Regions from separate parts of the Homo sapiens genome. Here region 2 is linked to region 1. Evidence: promoter capture Hi-C in 16 types of primary human blood cells and fetal thymus (Javierre and others, 2016). All regions are on one chromosome and are shown on one strand. The core of a region is centred on a gene start or on the middle of the fragment in contact, and the rest is flanking DNA. Distances in the headings are between cores, read along the strand shown.

Region 1 (4,648 bases), core at 384-2,883:
CTTGTCAAGCAATATTTCTGATATTTTGCATTCAATACACTGCCATTCTAGTACTGTTGTGGGTATTACTGTATGTGGGAAACAATGGTGTCATGGATGTTAGGAAAAGATGCTGGGATATATATGCCTGCTTAGAATCAGGAGAAAAGACAAATCTCCTTTCACCCTCCTGGTCAGCATAAATATTTTTAAAGATTGTTTAGATTTTTGTCAAGATTTCTTTCTCTTGATGAATTTGTCCTCGATTCAGTGGGGAGAACCAAGAGCCTCTCTTCGTTTCTCATCCTCTCCCTTCCCTCTAGTTCTCAGTTTTCCCATTTTTCTGCACAAGGACAGAAGTGGACTAGAAGATTACATCTAAGGTCCCGTTTAGCTCACGATACAGGCCCTCCCAGAGGTGGGGGTGTGGGCAGGGTCATGTTCCAAGTTCTGCCTCCCTCGATGGACTGTGGGCTCCCAGAGGGCAGAGCTAGCTCTATTCTCATGATTAAGGACATCGAGAAGGAAGGGGTGACGCTCCTAGGAGATGATTTCCCACCCCTGTCCACAAGGAGGATTGGGGCAGCCTGGAGAGGCTCAGTGCCCGCAAGAATTAAGCAGAAGTTGGGACTGGACTGTAAACTGATGCTGTCGCACATGCTTTGGTTCCTGTCCCAAGCCTCCCAGGTTGCTCCGGGTGACTCTGGCCCAGCTTCTGGCTATCCATGAACACAAGTAGTCCCAGGGAGTCATTCTGGCAGAACCCAGGTCTGCTAGCTAAGAACTCCTGAACCATCCGCAATCTCTGCCTGTGGCCTGGACTTGGTGTATGGCCGGCAGGGTGGAAGGAGAACCCACAGGGCCTCTGAAGACAGGCAGGTGGCACACCTGCGGCTGGGAGGATTTGGAAAAGGAGTCCAGCGCCATTCATTTTTCATTCATTTTCCAGCCCAACGTTTGACCTGAATGCTTCACGCTCACACTGCACACACTACTCCATTTATAATACAACTCGAGAAGGGCACATACTACTCCATCCACAGCTCAGTGAAGGGATGCATACTACTCTACTCACAATTCAACGAAGTGGTGCATCTGCCTCTAATTTACTAGCTACCCTGGGGACCTTGGACACGTTGCGTGTCTGGAAATACTGCAGGTGATGTGTGTGGAGTAGGCTGCAGGCTCACCGTCCTGCAAATACTAGCTGTACCACCACCGGCTTTAAAGTCCAACAGACCTCTGGCCCAAGTCAAGTAGCAGAGGATCCAGGGCTTGGGTGGCCCACAAATAGGATTCTTCTCCAAAACGAGGCGCATAATGGCCTTTGTCTCCTCGACAGAAAAGGGAAGGTAGACTGGCTTCCTCTATGGGCGACCTTCGCGACTCTGGAGAAAAAGACCTCATCATTCTCAGACTTGGGAAGGAAGACTAAGCCCGGAAAGGTGGGGACAAGTCCGCTCCAACGCCGCAATGGGGAGTAGTAGGGACCCAGCAACCCGGTGCCGGGAGCCCTGCACCCTGGGAGGGAGAGGCGGTCGCTGAGGCAGGAAGAGGAGGAGGAGAGAGAGGAGGGACGCACCGGGTCAGCTCGCGATCCTGCTGCGCAGGGCGGGGCTCGGGCCGGTCCGCCCGCGCGCAGGTGAGTGAGCCAGGGCGGAGCGCAGCTGCGCCGGGCTTGGGCGCCTGGGGCCGCCGCTCCCCACCGTCGTTTTCCCCACCGAGGCCGAGGCGTCCCGGAGTCATGGCCGGCCTGAACTGCGGGGTCTCTATCGCACTGCTAGGGGTTCTGCTGCTGGGTGCGGCGCGCCTGCCGCGCGGGGCAGGTGAGTGCCGGGCTTTGGAGGCGGATGGCGTGGAGTGGTGAGCTAGCCAGCCAGCGGACGCCCGGCGGAGATGCGGCCGAGGGACGCAGGGTGCGGAGGGTGCGGAGGGTGCGGAGAGAGGGCGGGGACGGCGTAGTCAAAATGCGCGGGTGGCTCCGGGACCCCCGGACTGTTCGGTTCCTGCGCGCGCCGCGTCGGGCGCGTGGGCCTTGCCCTCCTGGAGTCAACCTTGCCCTCGGCACGTGAGAGTGTCCCCGATCGGGGAGCCTCCCGGTCCGGGAGGATGAGCCCGGTGCTGGCCGAGAAGGCGGGAAAAGGAGCTCCCGGTAGCCGATCCCAGGCGACATGTCCAAGGTGGCGCGCCGTGCGCCCCAGGGTCTTTGCCGGGATTCTTGAAAGCACCCAGGCAGGGTGTGGGAAGAGATCTTTCCTCTCCAGGCTCGCCCTCTACCTCCTCGCCTGGTCCAGAGAGAAGGTGCAAAAAAAGTGCTTTCACGTCCGCATTTCCCACTAGATCCCCTTTTTCCCGTCCGCACGCTGCATTCCCCCTCTCCTAAAGTTGAAGAGCGTTGGTGCAAAAATGAAAGCGCCCGGATTTCTTTTAGGGGGTCCCAGAGAAAGCCGCCAGGCATCTGCGCCACCGCAGAGACTGGACATTCCCGCGCCCCTCGCACTTTTTGGCAGTGGACTTTGAGGGCAGGAGGCTGTTGTTCCGGGGATATGTGTGAATTTCGAGTTGTTTCGGTTGGGGGAAGGGACCAACACGTCCCAGTGACCTGTGCCAGCCAGGAAATGCCCTGTGGGCCCTGGATGTATTAGAACGTAGTAAATAACCTGGTTTCTTCATGTAAGAACTTGATGTGAGGCTAGTACAGGTTTCGCGAGATTAGTACAGGTTTTGTGTTTTTTAAATAGAGCTCTCCAGGAAGCCATGTGGGTTTGATTCCCCTTGCTGCATCTAGGGTGGATTTGTGTTTGGCAGGTGTAAATTAGATAAAGGAATAAAAGGACGCAAGTGAGGTTGAATTTGGGCGTCCCGGTGACTGCCGTCTTTACAAATACAAGACAGGAGCTTCTAAAATATCAATATAAGCTCCAGGAATACTTCCTGGTTCATTCTCCAACATCAGGTGACATATTGCTGCATAGTAGATAGAAAATTTAAAACTTCATTTAAACCATGGCATGGATTTATAAATATATATATAAATTATATATATTAAAGTAGAGACAGGGTTTCACTGTGTTGCCCAGGCTGGTCTCGAGCTCCTGAGCTCAAGTGATCCTCCCACCTGGGCCTCCCAAAGTGCTGGGATTACAGATGTGAGCCACTGTGCCTGGCTGATGAATATTTACTATAATTTCTTAGGACTGAATTTCCAAGATTCCCTTTGAAGAAAAAGAATTAGTTTAAGAATAAAAAGGAAGTGAAAATATGTGTATATGTGTGCTGAGAAAAATGCGTGCCTACCAGTCTTGGAACAGTATTGAAACTCTGGGAATTATCTGAGATGTTTTTGGCTTTCTGTGACAACAGTGGGGAACTCTTCCAGTCAGAACAGGGTGTTAATCAAGGCATTGCTAATAATGAGAGCCTCTGTTCCTGGTCTCATTTCTCCCTGTGATCTGGGAAGGCTGCCATTTTGGTCCAGTAACTCCAATGGAGTCCCTTCCAGGAAGTCCTTGACTGGCTGAGCCCTGTCTCATGGTTCAATACATAAATACGTAGAAACCTAGGAACTTTCCCTTTCGCTTTCTTAAGTTCCTCCCTATGGTCTCAGGAACTGGCCCTTTGAGGGTACATCAGGCTGAACTGAGAGCTTTTGTGGTTGGAGTAGTTGCCTGTAGTCTTGAGGATCTAAGTGGCAAAGGCCTTTGAGAAATTCCTGGAGACTGTCCTGAAAGGATACAGAAAGCCAGAGCCCTGGCACAGTGGATTTGTTTTATAAATCCATGAAGTCTCTTAACAAAGAAAGACTCAGCAGAGTAAAAATGAATTTGGTGTCACTGCAGAGATGAAAAGTAAAGGAAAGTTTGTGTCTTGGTGTCGTGTGTTTGTGTGACTTTGGTATCCCCACCAACTCCCCCATTTCCAAGAGTGAAACACTGGTTACATTGGGATCATAGCCTTTTGAAAACCTCCATTTGGTTGCTTTCTAAGAACCACTCAGATACCAGAGTCTGGGTCAGTGACCCCAATCTTGCCACCATTGTCTCTTGCCAAAAATGTGAGCAGACAGATCAAATGATATATTCACACTCCCTGGGTGAGTGTGGGTGTTCATTCTGTTTCCGATTCAAATGAGGAGCTACTGGCTGTTGTCTGGAATGTGTAACTGGTAGCGCTGATGAGTCTCCCCCATCTCCTCCCCCACATCCCCACAGATTTGCATGACTTGGAGTCAGACCTGTTAGCCCTAGGGCTCACCTCAGATGCTGCCATTTCATCTATGATGGTTGCACGCCTTGCATGTGCACACACACACTCTTCTGGGTGTTCTCCCTGGCTATCAATATGGGGGAAGGAAGTTAATAATTAAGATGTTTTAAGTAGCATATAGTTATTGTAGAAAAAGTGGCAATAAATATAACCAAAATGGAAAAAAATTATCTATAAGCAAACTGCCTTATTCACTTTGATGCAGTCTTCTTAATGTGTATGTATGCACGCTCATGTGCACAAACCAAAAATGGGATCATCCCATTGTATGGCTTTAACCAGTCCCCAGTTGTTGGACATTTAAGTTGCTTCCAGTTTTTCTTATTAAAAATAGAACACGTCCAACAATAGCCAGCTGCTTGTATCAATTTTAATAGGTCTATTCAGTGAAAAGGCACTTGAA
Region 2 (4,752 bases), core at 1,371-3,870, 350 kb before region 1:
CAAGAGCTGACATGGAAGGACTGGGTGATAAGCATGACCTCACATGAGATGCTATAAAACACTATGGGCCACTCCTCTCTGCCTCACAGGTACAATTCTTAATTACTTAACTCAGTTAAACAGAGAAGCACTGAAGGCTAGGTTCTATGCAAGCATGCAACATCACATGCCAGAACTGACTACGCAATATAAATGGACCTCAAATGATTAAGGTTGACAACCTCTAAAGCATACTAGAAAACTAGTATTCTACTACATGCATTTACCTTGCTTCAGAAGAACTGACACCTGCTTAAAGTTGCTATTCATGGAACTCAATTATTTTGCAAAGCAGTATAAGTGCTTACCTATGTTTAACCATTTTTTGATCATGGCAAAAATGACTAAAGAATCTTGCATAGAACAAGTGCATGACGGCATGTTCTTTCCCTCCAATGTACAAATCCACAGGCATCCAGTAATCGGCCACTGCTGTGTTAAAAGGGCTGTAAAAAAGAGATGGAGGCATTTTTAAAAACCTGCTTTGCCACAATTGTGTAAATTAAACAGGCCTATTGTAATATGCATATGCCCTGAAATGAACCGTATCAGGGAATAACAATGATTTTTTTAAAATATAAGAGAAGGCCGGGCGCGGTGGCTCATGCCTGTCATCCCAGCAGTTTGGGAGGCCGAGGCAGGTGGCTCACCTGAGGTCAGGAGTTCGAGACCAGCCTGCCCAACATGGCGAAACCCCATCTCTACTAAAAATACAAAAATTAGCCAGTTGTAGTGGTGGGCACCTGTAATCCCAACTACTCAGGAGGCTGAGGCAGGAGAACCACTTGAACCCGGGAGGCAGAGGTTGCAGTGAGCCAAGATCGTGCCATTGCACTCCAGCCTGGGCAACAGGGTGAGACTCTGTCTCAAAAACAAAACAGACAAACAAACAAACAAACAAACAAACAAAAATATATATATGAGAAAAGCTTATATAATAAAAAAGAAAAAAGTCAGGTAAGTGTTAATTTATGAAATTATAAAAATGGTTACAGAAGATATTACTGACATATTTCAACAAAAGCAATTTGCATATAAAATGAGGACAAAAGGAAAACATACCAGCAAAAAAAGGCATCTTGCTACAATGCACCTTGAATATCTAGATTCACTTTAATTTTTATTATTATGATTACACAATTGAGATGTCAGAGTTCCTACCAATAGAGGGCAATGTGGTATTTACAATGAAGATTAACATGCAGATACTAAATGTTTATTTATTAATTTATTTTCACATTAAAAAACATTTTTTTTTCTTTATTAAAGTTTGGGTCTTGCTTGGTCACCCACGCTGGAGCGCAGTGGCACAATCATAGTTCACTGCAGCCTCCAACTCCTGGGCTCAAGCGATCTTCCAGCCTCAACCTCCCAAGTATCTAGGACTACAGACACACACCACTCTGCCCAGCTAATTTTTTCTTTTTTTTTTTTAATTTTCTTTTTGAGACGGAGTCTCGCTCTGTCACCCAGGCTCGGTTGCAGGGGCGTGATCTCGGCTCACTGCAACCTCCGCCTCCAGGGTTCAAGCTATTCTTGTGCCTCAGCCTCCTGAGTAGCTGGGATTACAGATGCCTGACACCACACCAGGCTAATTTTTATATTTTTAGTAGAGATGGGGTTTTGCCATGTTGGTCAGGCTGATCTTGAACTTCTGACCTCAGGTGATCTGCCTAACTCGGCCTCCCAAAGTGCTGGGACTACAGGTGTGAGCCACTGCACCTGGCCATCAGTTAATTTTTTTAAAACATTTTTTATGGAGACGAGGTCTTGCTACGTTCAGTCCAGCTGGTCTTGAACTCCTGGCCTCAAGTCATCTTCCTGCCTCGGCCTCCCCAAGTTATGGGATTACACATGTGAGCCACTGTGCCCCAGCTGTAAATGTTTATTTTAAAATAGAAATTTGATTTTATTTTTTAAAGCAGTCTGAAAATATACTCAGCTAGAGACTGTATATTGCTTACTGAATGCGATGCAACATATTTAAGGTGACTTGTCATATAATAGCCCAATAACTCTCACCTAACAGATACTAATAGAAAGGCTTTCTCATACTCTTGGGTCCTAAAGGACACTGGAGAGGAAAGGAAATGTCATTTCCATTTTCTGGCTGGGACCTTCGGTGGGAGGGGCAGCACTGGCTGGCGACAGACCTCTGTGTTGCCAAGGTAATGCCGTCCCTTGAGGTCAGCCAATCAAGCAAACCTTTGCCTTTGGAGGACTTCGAATATTTGTGAATTGGTTCCCTGACACCTCAAGCCACCTTTTTCCCCAGGATAGACTTGGCTGGCTTCAGCTTTGAGGCTAGAAAAAAGAGCCTGGCTACCACCACATATTTGCATCTTAATATAGTTTGGTGTTCTCCAGTCACTGTACCAGAATTCTGATAAAATTTTTAAAAAACACTTTTTTTCTTCGTGAAAAACAGTTCCCTAAAGAAATTCAACTGCCAATCCAGGCGACAGAAAAGAAAGGAAAGTGAAGGATGGTATTTGGCCGGAAAACAAGTTTGGGATATATTAAGGAGTGAAATGTTGAAAGTAGCTACAGCTCAGATTTATGATCCACTCAGGAAACCACCCCAGGAAGAACTCGTGCTGGGGCTGAAGCTAACTACAGTGTGTCATGAGGGAAATGAAGTGCTCACTGCTGTTCACAAACTGGGGGCTGTGACGGTCTCAGGATGTCTCTCCCGCCACGGTAACTTGAGGTCTCTCTCATCTGTGTGAAGGCTTTCCTTTGAAGCACTCTGAGAAAGGAAAGAGCCTGACCTCACTTGCATTCTAAGCCAGTTGTTACTACATGAAATGCACCAATGGCCCCTTATAGAGGGAAGGCCCTGAAGGGGAGCCCCTCTGTGGGCCAGAGAAGGCCATGCTGGTGGTTCCCAGCCACAGTCGTCACCTTGCACCCTTCCTGCCTTTGCAGGGTGTCTTTCACTCAGGATCCCCCTCATTTCTTTTTTTTCTTTTTTTTTTTTTGAGAGGAAGTCTCACTTTGTTGCCCAGGCTGGAGTGCAGTGGCACGAGCTCAGCTCACTGCAACCTCTGCCTCCCGGGTTCAAGCGATTCTCCTGTCTCAGACTCCTGAGTAGCTGGGATTACAGGTGCGTGCCACCGTGTCCAGCTAATTTTTGTATTTTTGGTAGAGTTGGGGTTTTGCCATGTTAGTCAGGCTGGTCTCCAACTCCTGACCTCAGGTGATCAGCCTGCCTCGGCCTCCCAAAGCGCTGGAATTACAGGCGTGAGCCACCATGCCTGACAAGGATCCCCCTTATATCTGATATGAACTCAAATTACAGAATCACAACACTGCAGGTTGAAATTCTGGCAGGGTGAGGGCAGGAGTATCTGTCTCACTAGAAAGATATTATTTTAGAACCACGAAGAATAGGGAGGCATATTTTATATGTAGGCAACAGGGTTCCAGAATGTTTCTGCCATGGACAAGAGCAATTAGGCAAGGCCCTTTTAAGCACAATGCTGTGTTTTTTCCTGGGCTCTGGAAGAGTTTCTTTCGGTTCTCATTCTCTCTCTTTATAAGGCTACCTACTGCTCTCTTTTCCTTAATTTGTTTCTTTTTTTGGGGGGGGCGGGGTTCAAATAAACACATGAATACAGCTTAAAAATCAAAATGGTACTGAAAGATTTACAATGAAAAACAGTGGTCTCCAGCCCCAATTCTTTCCTTGCCTCAGGCCTGTCTCTTAGCCACTTTTAATTCTTTTGGTTGTTTCTCCCAGCAATTATTGAAAAAAAAAAACATGTTTATACTCTTTATTGATTTATCAATTTAGGAAATGATCTACTATGTAGTAAGAGGTGAGGCTTCTTAGCGGTCTCACCCTCCCTACCTGCTACCTTCTCTGTAGAGTTACATTATTCTTTTCAGTTAAATAAATAACATTACATCTTTACAATCATACAAATGCAGTTCACTGCAAGGAGGGTATCACAGTAGCATTTCCTTCTTTTTCCGTTTTGTATTTGTGTTGTACTTGGGATTTACTTGGCTGTGAATAATCTAACTTAATGATGTAGCACTCTCCCTTTAAGAGAGCCTGTTCCGAGGTGCACAGTTGACTGACAGCTTCCAGCTGCTGCATCTGTGGACCCACTCTGGTGTGTTCCTGCCAGCCCATGTTGCTCTCCCAGGCTGCTCCCAGGAGAGTAGAGGGAGGGGCTGGAGCAGAGCCATTTTAGCCTGACTGTAAGACTCTAATGGACAAGCTTTGCTTGGGCCTTCCCACTGGCCAGGTCGAGGCTTTCTCAGAGTTGTGCTGTGGGCTGAGGCTCCTCCACCTGATCCTCCTTCCTTTCCCTTCTCCTTTCACACCTGTCACAGCTCCATCGTGGTCTAAGAGCACTCTCTGCCCACTCCTCCTCTTCTCCCCTTTAATCTGCACAGGCATTTCCCCCCAAGAAATCTCTTGCATGTCTAATTCCATCTTGGTCTTTGCTTCTAGGAGGAGCCACACTGACAAATGCTCAAAGACATCAGCAGGGACGTTTTACCTGTGTGGATTATGAGGGTCAGTGTATCTGAAGTAGTACCAAGCAGAATCAACAAAGGTATCCATCGTGTCTGTCTCTCTCTTGGCTGCTCCCTTGCACCTAAGAAAGAAATGAAATTCATCAATTGGTTTCTTTTTAAATTTTAATGCAGTTTTCCATCAGCTTTTGAGAGAGCTATAAGTATGAATTTAAAATGTCA

What was found. The method cuts DNA at HindIII sites, captures the fragments that hold promoters and counts their contacts. A CHiCAGO score of 5 or more calls a contact.
Region 2: a fragment that was not itself captured here is called in contact with the fragment with the promoter of CDCP1 in region 1 in 1 of 17 cell types (M1 macrophages); the score reaches 5.9 in M1 macrophages.

The regions. Positions count from the first base shown.
Region 1 is chr3:45,143,363-45,148,010 of GRCh38, reverse strand. CDCP1 (CUB domain containing protein 1) reads left to right here and starts at 1,633. Exons shown (of 9, transcript NM_022842.5): 1 at 1,633-1,805. The coding sequence starts at 1,724. The HindIII fragment of the contact is 9,970 bases long and covers 1-4,648 here.
Region 2 is chr3:45,496,175-45,500,926 of GRCh38, reverse strand. It overlaps LARS2 (leucyl-tRNA synthetase 2, mitochondrial), which reads right to left. Exons shown (of 22, transcript NM_015340.4): 14 at 4,554-4,652; 15 at 348-485. The region is part of intron 2 of LARS2-AS1 (LARS2 antisense RNA 1); the gene reads left to right. Among named protein-coding and RNA genes, the nearest start is that of LARS2-AS1, 11 kb to the left of the region's middle. The HindIII fragment of the contact is 3,300 bases long and covers 971-4,270 here.